2 separate regions of the Homo sapiens genome follow, and region 1 is linked to region 2. The links are contacts of gene promoters, found by promoter capture Hi-C in blood cells and fetal thymus (Javierre and others, 2016). All regions are on one chromosome and are shown on one strand. The core of a region is centred on a gene start or on the middle of the fragment in contact, and the rest is flanking DNA. Distances in the headings are between cores, read along the strand shown. Region 1 overlaps MINK1 (misshapen like kinase 1). Region 2 holds the start of ZMYND15 (zinc finger MYND-type containing 15).

Region 1 (5,656 bases), core at 2,554-5,053, 98 kb before region 2:
GGAGGCCAGCGGTGCCCTGGCTGAGAACCAGAGTCAGCACCTGTACTGCTTTGTATCCCACCGTGCCCAGCATATACTGGGCACCCTGTACTAATTGTGGATTGAATCTAGTAGGAAAGGTCCAGTCACAGACATACTTAGATCCATGTCTCTTACCAAGTAATTTCTGAACCCCTACTGTGTGCTCAGCATCTTTACAGGGATCAAGAGGAAATATGGATCACAGTCTCTACACATAAGGAAGTGGTAGGAAAAACAAGACCATAAAACATTATTCAATATAAGGCAATATATAAGCCAATGCTAAATTGTAAGGTCTGTGAGAAAGTGGATGATGTGATCAGTAAAGGCTGGCAAAATCGGAGGGGGGGCTTTGTGGGAAAAAAACATAAGTTGAGGTGGCTCTTGAAGGAGGTGGGATTGTCTTCATTCAGCCCTACCGATCCTCAGTCTGTCCCTGCCAGGACCGCTGTTCATAGAAAACTCCTCTAAGCCTGTGGTTCTAGGAGCAATTCGGCAACCCAAGCCCTTCAAATCCCATCCCCAGGTGGTTCCTGGAACAAGACGGTGTGAGAAATTTCCCATTCTTTGTCAGAAGACCAGAGAATATCAGGCCTGCTTTCAGGAGGCCTGCTCATCCCAAAGGCAATGGAAGAAACCACTGGCGGAAGTGCCCGTGCGGAGATGCCCAAGACAGAACCAAAAAGCATTTGGTGCTACGTGTACATACTGAGTCACAGGCTCTAAGTGCTGGGGCCCCCAGTTGTGACCACAGACACTCCCCACGTCGCCTGTCCCGTGTGGCCCTGGAATTTACCTGCTGTGGATGAACCTGAGGTCTCAGCTATCTCCTCTGTCAAAGGTCTTCCTGTCTCCTCCCTCGCCAACTATCACCACGTTTCTTAGGCAGCTCGTCCCCATTTCCTCCATTCATCTCTCTCCAGCCACCCAGGCTCCTCCCACAGGCTGTGCCACCAAACTCTCCTCACAGCCCACCTCACCGTCTTCTACGCTGCCATCCTCCCGACATTCAAGCTGGTCCCAGAGCCTGGCTCCTTCAGGAAGCCCAAGACTTGTGGCTTCCCCAACCCTGTTTCCTTTCAAACACGCAAAATCAGTAACACTCCCCCTCCACACCCCACTCATCCTTTACTTGTATACAATGTAAATGGAGAGTCTTGTCTATTTATATACACTATCTATCCAATGTTAGAAAGAATCCCACTTCCCACAGACCATGCAGCTAAGCTGAGGGCTGGGCCTACTTGTTCTTATTTCCGTGAGACTCACCTACCTTCCAAACTCCAGGCACCCCTTAGGCTAATAACATCTAGGGATACACCCTCCTCTCTCATATACCCCATTCTGAGGAGCCACATCTAAACTACAGACCCAGGACCCAGAGTCCCTCCCCCAGTAAGTAAAAATGAGGATTATATGAGTCATAAGCTCTTTCCATATACATGCTCTTAACTTTTGAGACAAACAAATAAACCATTTTTTTTCCCCTCCCACAGGAAGATTCAGAAGAAATCCTTTTGGAATTAAGCCTGGAGTTTCCACCCCATCCTCAGGCTTCTTGCCCTCAATTGTTGACCAAATGCTTCACCATAAGAATGGCCCCATTCCAGAGTCTCCCAATTCTCACCATCACCAAACTCTACCTGCTGGTTCAACTCTATCTCATCTTTCTGCAGCAATGCCAGTTTAGCTTTCTGACATGATTTACGTCTCTCTCAATCAACTAGATATTTTTGTCTTATAAAAGTTTTGTCTCGTAAAAGCAATTTTTTTTCCATGACACAGCCCTCAGGAGATCCTGAGAACATATGCTCAAAACAACTCTTGTTATATGTGCCCACGGCATGTTAAAGTTTTCACTACAGTCCTTATCATGGCTTGCAATCACACACACACACACACACACACACACACACACACACACACACACATTAATAAATAATTACTTGATTAATGTCTCTCCCTACTACTAGACTGTATCACCACTGTGTCCTCTGTGCCTAGTTCTAGATCTTTCCTCAAACAGAACACAAAATCCTACCCACACGTAGCACGTACAACCTCAGGCTGTCTAGCCACTGGACAAAATCTCCAGGGGCTCTCTTGGGTCACTACAATTCCATCCCTCTTTTCTCTCCTCCCTTTACTATTCCCGCCCTTAGTAAGAACAAAGAGCCTCAAAACCCTTTTTCCATTACCCCCTAGAAGAGCTTCCTATAGATAAGAGAAGCCCAGTCTCAAGTCAAGGACTGGTTGGTTCGGAGGAGAATGGCAAAAGAACTGGAGAGAGCAAATGGCCGTGAGCTGTGGACAGGATCCAAGTCTTCTACCAAGTCACGTTTTTGTATCTTACTATACTCTGTGTGAATTCAAGAAATGCTTTGAGAGTTGACTTATTAACCTGATCACTTTTGTTCTGTCTTCAATCCAGGAAAGAGAAGACTGAGACAGATAGTAGTAAAAAGTAGGTGTCGAAGGGAGTGGGGCTGAAGACCAGGTTTCAAGATGACTGCCCACTGACCACAGAAAATGAGTGTAATTCATGGAAATCAGGTTTAACAAAAATGTCCCAACCTTGAAGGTTGCAGGATATTGAGGAAAACAGTAACAGTTAAGAAAAAGAGTCTAGGCCGGGCACGGTGGCTCGCGCCTGTAATCCCAGCACTTTGGGAGGCTGAGGCGGGCAGATTACAAGGTCAGGAGATCAAGACCATCCTGGCTAACACGGTGAAACCCCGTCTCTACTAAAAATACAAAAAATTAGCCAGGCATTGTGGCGGGCGCCTATAGTCCCAGCTACTCGGGAGGCTGAAGCAGGAGAATGGCGTGAACCTGGGAGGTGGAGCTTGCAGTGAGCCAAGATCGCGCCACTGCACTCCAGCCTGGGCGACAGTGCGAGACTGCGTCTCAAAAAAAAAAAAAAGAGTCTAGGCTTGGAAAGGCATTGCTTTGCTTGGGTGGATGTCCCCAGAGATCTGGTTAAATAGCTTAGTAGAGGACTGAGTACTATATTACATCCTTTCCATAGAATCTGGAACCTGATTCTCAATACATAGACTGCCAATGCTTGGCGACTGACTGGTGGAGGACAGGGGATTATTGATAACTTTCTCTGATTCAACTTTGTCTGGAGACAGAAATATTAGACAGGCAGACTCTCACCGGCTTCTGGAGATGTTCTCCAGTCCAGAATTGCTTTATGTTTCTGGGTTGAGAGGTTACTGCATGCCTTATCTACAGACCTACACCAGAATACAAGCTTATCAAGAGCGGCTGCACACTTCCTGCCATCATGTCCCCTAAATGACAAACAAAGATGGTTTACATGTGCAAGTTGTGTGTGCTACCCTGTCTTAGGCACACAGTTCAATGCGGAAAGGAATGGAGGCCAGATGTGAAGTCAGGATTCTACCCAGCAGAGTTTTAATTGAGCTCCTGGGGCAAGAGTGAGGGGGTGGGCCAGCTGGCTCTCTTGCTGACCTTACTGTTATCTTAACTGTCAAAACCTCCCTGCTGTGTATATCCCTAAGGACTATGGCAAACTGTCCTATCCCATAGCATAAAGGGTGGGGATGTCTCTCCCTCTGTTTGGGGAATGACTGATCACCTAGTTTCAGCCAAGTTCTCAGTAATCTTCCTTCCGTCATTTTGCCAAGGCAGCATTTCACTTCATCTAAATGCCTCGAGCTCTCCAAACAGCCCCATTCCCCTTTTGCAATTTTCCAGGGGAAAAAAGTCACTATTGAATGTCCTTACTTCTGCAGCAGGAGGTCACTCTTCCCATTCTCCTGCCTAAGGCATCTGTCATCAACATTTGGACAGCTAGCACATCAGAACACAGAGGCAGTCCCACGTTGCTCAGCAGCCTAGAAATACATGCCCAGAACTGCCAGCTTTCCGAGTGGTGCTGGCTCCACAGCCGCATGAAGAGAGGAGGAAGGCGAAGACACTTATCCAAAGAACAGACACAACAACACAAAATCATTTGAAAAAGAACATCTCTGTCAGCAGCTACCACCGAGCAACAAGTCCTCCTTGAATGTGCTCCATGCTATGATTTCAATCCAGCGACGCTAAGCATAGCTCCACAGTTTCAAGGACACTGCAGTCAAACTTCGAGCTGGATGGTAAAAAGAAGCTGTTTGATTTACGAAGTGGGTCAACCAAAAGGAGCAATGCAAAAGGAAAGAGGTCAGGCCGGGGCCTGCCCCCTCCTTGTCCCATCCACTTCCACTGATATTTATCCTTTGTGAGAAGCCAAGAGTTCCAAGTCAGAAGGTTCTCCTGGAATATAACCAAGCTTAGACACAGAGGCCCACATTTTCTCTTGGATGATCCTAACTTTACTTCAAGGGCATCGCTCAGCTGGAGGCTTCCAGAACTGTTTACCCCAGACAAGGTCTGATTCTAAAAACATCCCAGAAAAAATATATTCTTAATTGTGCATAAATAAAAGAGGGGCAAAATGAAGCCTAAGAAGCCTGGGGTTTATTGAATACTTTCTCTAAGCAAGCACTGCACTGTGTTGTAAGTGGCACGTGTTGTAAGAGGCACTTCTGCAACAAACGTTTGAGCCCCCATTATGTGCAAAACATGCTTACAGGCACTGGGGATACAAAAATGAACAAAACAGCCAAAATCTTAGCTTTCACCGAACTGTTTGTTGTAGTTGTTGTTGTTGTTTGAAACAGAGTCTGGCTTTGTCGCCCAAGCTGGAGTGCAGTGGTGCAATCTTGGCTCACTGCAGCCTCCACCTCCAAGGTTCAAGTGATTCTCCTGCCTCAGCCTCCCGAGTAACTGGGATTACAGGTGTGCGCCACCATGCCTGGCTAATTTTTTTGTATTTTTTTTTTAGTAGAGATGGGGTTTTACCATGTTGGCCAGGCTGGTCTCGAACTTCTGACCTCTCAGGTGATCCATCTGCCTCGGCCTCCCAAAGTGCTGGGATTACGGTCGTGAGCTACCACACCCGGCCACTGAACTGACATTTTAGTGGGGCTGACAGGAATATATATGTCAGCTGGTGATAAATACTATGAGGAAGGATAAAGCAGACTAAGGGAATGCTATATAAAATTTTGTATAAAAATAAAGCAGAGGAGGGAGTGCTATTTTAGATAAAGTTGTCCTGGAAGGCTTCTCTGATTGCCATTTGATAAAAATAACTGCAAAAAGGGCTATCACATATATGATCACTGTGTGCTGGGAACTGTACTATGTACTTAACGTGCATTTAATCCTCAGCAACTCTGCATTCAGTACTATTACCATGCCCACGATACAGGACTGAATGAAGCTTAGAGAGGGTAAGGCTCTTGGCAGAATCTGCAGTAAGGGGAGCAGGGCCAGGGTTACATTGTAAGGGAAGAAACTAGGACTTGAACTCAGGGCTGCAACTTCAAACCACATGCTTTTCCTCACCACGCTGCAGCCAGGCTGGTGGAGAAAAGGAACCTCAAAGAGGTCAAGTGTGGCTGTGGCTACAAAGTAGCAGGTCCATCTGGCCTCCCCACACATGGCTAAGAGATTAACGCAATTCAATCTTCCCTAATATCAGACGATTACCCTCATCACCAGCTGAAAACCAAGCCTTATCTTGAAACAAGAGGAGAAATACACCTTGGGCTCCTTAAGG
Region 2 (5,442 bases), core at 377-2,876:
TGGGTAGAGAGGGCACGCTCCTTCTAAAGGGGACAGCTGCTACAGAGGACCAGAATGCGCTGCCATGCAGAAATGTAGGCCCACTGTCAGAGCTTGAGATTTTTCTTGGGAATGTGTAAATCCAGACTTCTGGATACTTTTTTTCTTGCAATGTTTAAACATTAAATTAAAAAAAAAAACCCCACTGTGGGTCAATAAAAACACCTTTTCAGGCCAGATTGGCCTGAAGGCCAGCACTCAGAACTAGTGGCAGGGGAGGGCTTCCGAAGGGAGGATGGCTGGGCAAGGGGTAGGGCAGGGCCAGCCCTGGGTTCTTACCACTCCTCTGTCCCTTCCTCTTCTGGGGTCTTGTTTCGTTCTCCACCCTGTCCTCTCGGCAGCCATCCTTGCCACCTCCTGCCTCCCGGGCAGCCTCCTCTGACTCTCCTGGAGGGTTTGTTTCCTGGGGGGACTCCCTGCTGGTAGGGGCTAGCTCCCGGTCCTCCTCTGGTTCCACCTTCTCTGTGCTGCCTGCACCCCCGTCCTCTCTCTTCTCTTCTTCTTCATCTTCCTCCTCTTCCTCCTCCCCTTCCTCCCCATCCTCTAGGCTGACAAAGCTGATGTAGGGGCTCAGGTCTCGCAGGTGGAGTGGAGGGTTGTCTCCCAGGAGCCAGGCAGTCCCCAGGCCTGGTCCAGGACCTGGTTCTGCCCCTTGCCCCAGGCTGATGCCCACACTATGGTTGGGCAGGACATGGAGCACCCAAAGGGCAGGGTCCTGGGGTAGCCTTCTGATCTGGGCCTCCAGCTGCCGGCAGCGGCCCTCAAGGCTAGTCCCTACAGCTCCACGCTCTGCCACAAACTTTCGGAACCAGCCGAAGAGAAGGGCAGTGAAATCAAGGAACTCATCCCGGTATCCAGACACAAACTCCATGTCTTCAGCGGCACAGGGCCCCGGCCCAGACTGAGCAAAAGAAGGGATATATGGTGAGGGACAGGAGAGCAATGATGGAGTTTGGGGCTGGGTCACAAATTGAGGGAGAGGGTAGGTTTGAGAGTCACTTAGGGTTGGATCCGTGGATATGCTAGGAGCGGAGAAGAGGATTTTTCAGGGCTGAGGATGGGAGTTTAGGGAGGAAAATGGGGGCTGGACTTGAAAGTGGGTGACCAGGGTTGGAGAAGACTACTCAGGGATGAGATGGTATTTGGGGCTTAAAATTGGAGAGTTCACACCCTCAAAAGCAGAGTTTAAATTAAGGCTAGAGAGGAGAGAGGGCTAATCCTATCGGGAACGGTTTGGTGGGGAGGGAAGCATTTTGGATGCGTCTGTGGGGTATGGGAGTGGGAGCGAGGGGGTTCCCTGGGCTCGGATCTGCGTGGCGGGCAGCCCCGGTAGACCTAGCCCCTCCCGGCCGCCCCACTCCTCCGGTACCTGCAGCCGCCACCACTTTTCGAAGGTAAATACCTCGCGGTGGAGGGTGCGCGGGTGCGGTTGTGACGTCAGGGCTGCCCGAGCCCTCGCCGGCTCAGCGGGCGGCCACGCCCCCCGGGCTCGGTGCGTCCGCGGGTGGCTGCCCCGCAGGTGCGCGCGGCCGGGGCTGGCGGCGACTCTCTCCACCGGGCCGCCCGGGAGGCTCATGCAGCGCGGCTGGGTCCCGCGGCGCCCGGATCGGGGAAGTGAAAGTGCCTCGGAGGAGGAGGGCCGGTCCGGCAGTGCAGCCGCCTCACAGGTCGGCGGACGGGCCAGGCGGGCGGCCTCCTGAACCGAACCGAATCGGCTCCTCGGGCCGTCGTCCTCCCGCCCCTCCTCGCCCGCCGCCGGAGTTTTCTTTCGGTTTCTTCCAAGATTCCTGGCCTTCCCTCGACGGAGCCGGGCCCAGTGCGGGGGCGCAGGGCGCGGGAGCTCCACCTCCTCGGCTTTCCCTGCGTCCAGAGGCTGGCATGGCGCGGGCCGAGTACTGAGCGCACGGTCGGGGCACAGCAGGGCCGGGGGGTGCAGCTGGCTCGCGCCTCCTCTCCGGCCGCCGTCTCCTCCGGTCCCCGGCGAAAGCCATTGAGACACCAGCTGGACGTCACGCGCCGGAGCATGTCTGGGAGTCAGAGCGAGGTGGCTCCATCCCCGCAGAGTCCGCGGAGCCCCGAGATGGGACGGGACTTGCGGCCCGGGTCCCGCGTGCTCCTGCTCCTGCTTCTGCTCCTGCTGGTGTACCTGACTCAGCCAGGTTAGCCGGGGGCGGGGCAGGGGACCCAGATTCCCCTGTCACGGGAAGGGGGTGAGTTGGGGAGGGGACACGAGGCCCACGGAGTTGAGTGGATGAAGGCAGCGGGGACAAGAGGAAAGCCAGCCAGCCGCCTGGGGTTGGGGACAGAGGCCCGGGGACGCCTGGCTCCGGGCGGGATTATGGATGTTGTCGGGGGCGTGATGATGTGTGGGTTGAGCCTGGCGCTCTGACCCTGGGTCCACCGAGAGGCTGTCATGGGGCTGTGGATTGGATGCCAGGGAACAGCGGAGTGGGGACCCTGGGCCTGGGAATGGGTGCCGACCACCTCCGTCCCGCGCAGGCAATGGCAACGAGGGCAGCGTCACTGGAAGTTGTTATTGTGGTAAAAGAATTTCTTCCGACTCCCCGCCATCGGTTCAGTTCATGAATCGTCTCCGGAAACACCTGAGAGCTTACCATCGGTGTCTATACTACACGAGGTAATTTTACCTGCCTCTGCGAGGGCAGCGCCTGGGCGGCCCCTCCTTGCAGGTGCCTCCAGGACCCTCTCTGGTCCAGCCTGAACTCCTTCCCGGCTCACCGAGCCCCATCTCCGGGTTCCGTTTGCTCTCATTCCCCGAAACTTCATGACTCCGTCTCACCTACTGGGGAGTTTCCCAGTCCCAGGAGAAAGGGCTCTTTCTTGGTGGCAACTTCACGCCTCTGGAATGAGGAAGGAGCCGGGGAAGGAAAGAAGGCGCCGCAGCTAAGCCCAGGTCTCTCCTCCGCAGGTTCCAGCTCCTTTCCTGGAGCGTGTGTGGGGGCAACAAGGACCCATGGGTTCAGGAATTGATGAGCTGTCTTGATCTCAAAGGTGAGACTTTTCCACTGCTCTTCAGGCTCTGCCTCCAGGGCTTAGCAGCTTCCACCTGACAGTTTTCTTTACCTGAGCCTTTTCCCCTGGGGCCGCACATTCCTAGAACCTTCTTCTGATCCTGTCCAAAGTACTTAGACTCGAGTCCCTGTTTGCCAAACGGGGTGATCATTCACCATCACCTTCATGAGTTTTGCCAATTCATTCTACCACGTGTGCTATTGTCTACTTATTAATATTTTTCTTGAAATCAAAGTACTATTTTATTTTATTTTTTTGAGATGGAGTCTCACTCTGTCACCCAGGCTGGAGTGCAGTGGCACGATCTTGGCTCACTGCAACCTCTGCCTCCCAGGTTCAAGAGATTCTCCTGCCTCAGCCTCCTGAGTAGCTGGGATTACAGGCGCGCACCACCAAGCCTGGCTAATTTTTGTATTTTTAGTAGAGACAGGGTTTCACCATGTTGGCCAGGCTGGTCTCGAACTCCTGGCCTTGTGATCCACCCGCCTCGGCCTCCAAAAGTGCTAGGATTACAGGCGTGAGCCACCACACCTGGCCTATTTTTCTTTTCCAATATTTTATTATGAAAATTTACACATATACAAAAGTTGAAAGAATGGCACACTGAATATCCAGTGCCTCCACCTAGATTCTACAATTTTATTTATATATGTATATTTTACATATTTACATAAACATATATTTTACACTATCAATTTTACAGCAATTACACGATATTTGCTTTATTAAGTATCCATCTATTCATTCTTCTATCCATCATCCATCACCTTATTTCTTGATGCATTTCTTTTTTTTTTTTTTTTTTTTTTTTAATGGAGTCTTGCTCTGTCGCCCAGGCTGGAGTGCAATGGTGCCCTCAGCTCACTGCAGCCTCCGCCTCCCAGGTTCAAGCAATTCTCCTGCCACAGCCTTCCGAGTAGCTGGGATTGCAGGTGCCCGCCACCATGCCCAGCTAATTTTTGTATTTTTTTAGTAGAGATGGGGTTTCACCGTGTTGGTCAGGCTGGTCTCAAACTCCTGACCTCAGGTGATCCACCTGCCTCAGCCTCCCAAAGTGCTGGGATTACAGGTGTGAACCGCAGTGCCCGGCCTCTTGATGCATTTCAAGGCAGATTGTGGACATCATTGCACTTCATCCCAAGACATTTCAGCATGTATATTAAGTAGAGTTCAATATTTTAATGCTTTTTTTTCTTTTGAGTTCAAATTTACATACAATGAAATGAATTACTTTTAAGTGTGCACAAACTAGTTTTGAAAACTTAAGTAGAGGCCAGGACGGTGGCTCACTCCTGTAATCCTAGCTCTTTGGGAGGTTGAGGCCGGTGGATCACCTGAGGTCAGGAGTTTGAGACCAGCCTGACCAACATGGTAAAACCCCATCTCTACTAAAAATACAAAATTAGCCAGGCATGGTGGCATGTGCCTGTAATTCCAGCTACTCAGGAGGTTGAGGCAGGAGAATCACTTGAACCTGGAGGCGGAGGTTGCAGTGAGCCGAGATCAGGCCATTGCACTCCAGCCTGGGCAACAAAAAAAAAGAAAGAAAACTTAAATAGTAAATTATCCTAAGCAATAATATCTGTGAAGTCACAAGTTTGATGCATTGGTTATATTTTTCTCTTAAAATAAATATACAACCATTAAAATACAAAAGGTTCTTCCATGTCCTAGCTAAAGTTTTGTAGGATCTGTGTCATCCATACTGCCTTTAAGTCTGCCTAGACCTCTATGATTTCCTTTCATCCTCCCAGGAACCCTGGCCCTTGGTACTACAATTATCCTCATTTTACAGCTGGAAGATATCACTTCCGGAGAGGTTAGGGACAAGGGGTGAGGTTACACAGCTACTTGAGGTTACACAGCTACTTTACAGCAGAGCTTGGAATCCAACCCTGGTCTTCTGATTTCCCAGTTCATGACACCCACTTGTCTCGTGGTTCGCTCACTTCCTTGTCCCCTACCTTTTCCGTCTGTCATCTGCCTTCCTCTTCTGGCCTTCAGCGTGATAACCTCCCTGACTCACTCTTCCCTCTGTTGGAGCTCAGAACATGACACTCCAAAACATGGCACCTTGGTAATTACGAAAACAGCAGAAGTAAGTAGCTCACTCTGCTCTGTTTTTCTGTGAGAGCTGGCCATAAAGGAATTCTCTAACTTCACGTGGAAGTAGGTCATAGGCTCTCATTTCAGATGGGTCCTGCCCTATACTTGGAGGCCAAGAAGAATCTGGACAGGCCTTGCTGGTCCCCCACCCCCCATTTATTGCCATTAGATCATACCCTTTTTGTCCAATCATACTTCTTTTTTTTTTTTGAGATGGAGTTTCGCTCTTGTTGCCCAGGCTGGAATGCAGTTGTGCAATCTTGG

The links. The method cuts DNA at HindIII sites, captures the fragments that hold promoters and counts their contacts. A CHiCAGO score of 5 or more calls a contact.
Region 1: a fragment that was not itself captured here is called in contact with the fragment with the promoter of ZMYND15 in region 2 in 14 of 17 cell types (erythroblasts, naive B cells, megakaryocytes and 11 more); the score reaches 10.0 in erythroblasts.

What each region holds. Positions count from the first base shown.
Region 1 is chr17:4,836,236-4,841,891 of GRCh38, reverse strand. The region is part of intron 1 of MINK1 (misshapen like kinase 1); the gene reads right to left. Among named protein-coding and RNA genes, the nearest start is that of MINK1, 5.7 kb to the right of the region's middle. The HindIII fragment of the contact is 1,041 bases long and covers 3,283-4,323 here.
Region 2 is chr17:4,736,017-4,741,458 of GRCh38, reverse strand. ZMYND15 (zinc finger MYND-type containing 15) reads right to left here and starts at 1,626. Exons shown (of 14, transcript NM_001136046.3): 1 at 1,409-1,626; 2 at 319-940. The coding sequence starts at 910. CXCL16 (C-X-C motif chemokine ligand 16) reads left to right here and starts at 1,531. Exons shown (of 6, transcript NM_001386809.1): 1 at 1,531-2,198; 2 at 2,539-2,677; 3 at 2,969-3,051. The coding sequence starts at 2,120. RefSeq lists a silencer at 1,440-1,659 and enhancers at 1,208-2,112, 2,113-3,018. The HindIII fragment of the contact is 8,207 bases long and covers 1-5,442 here.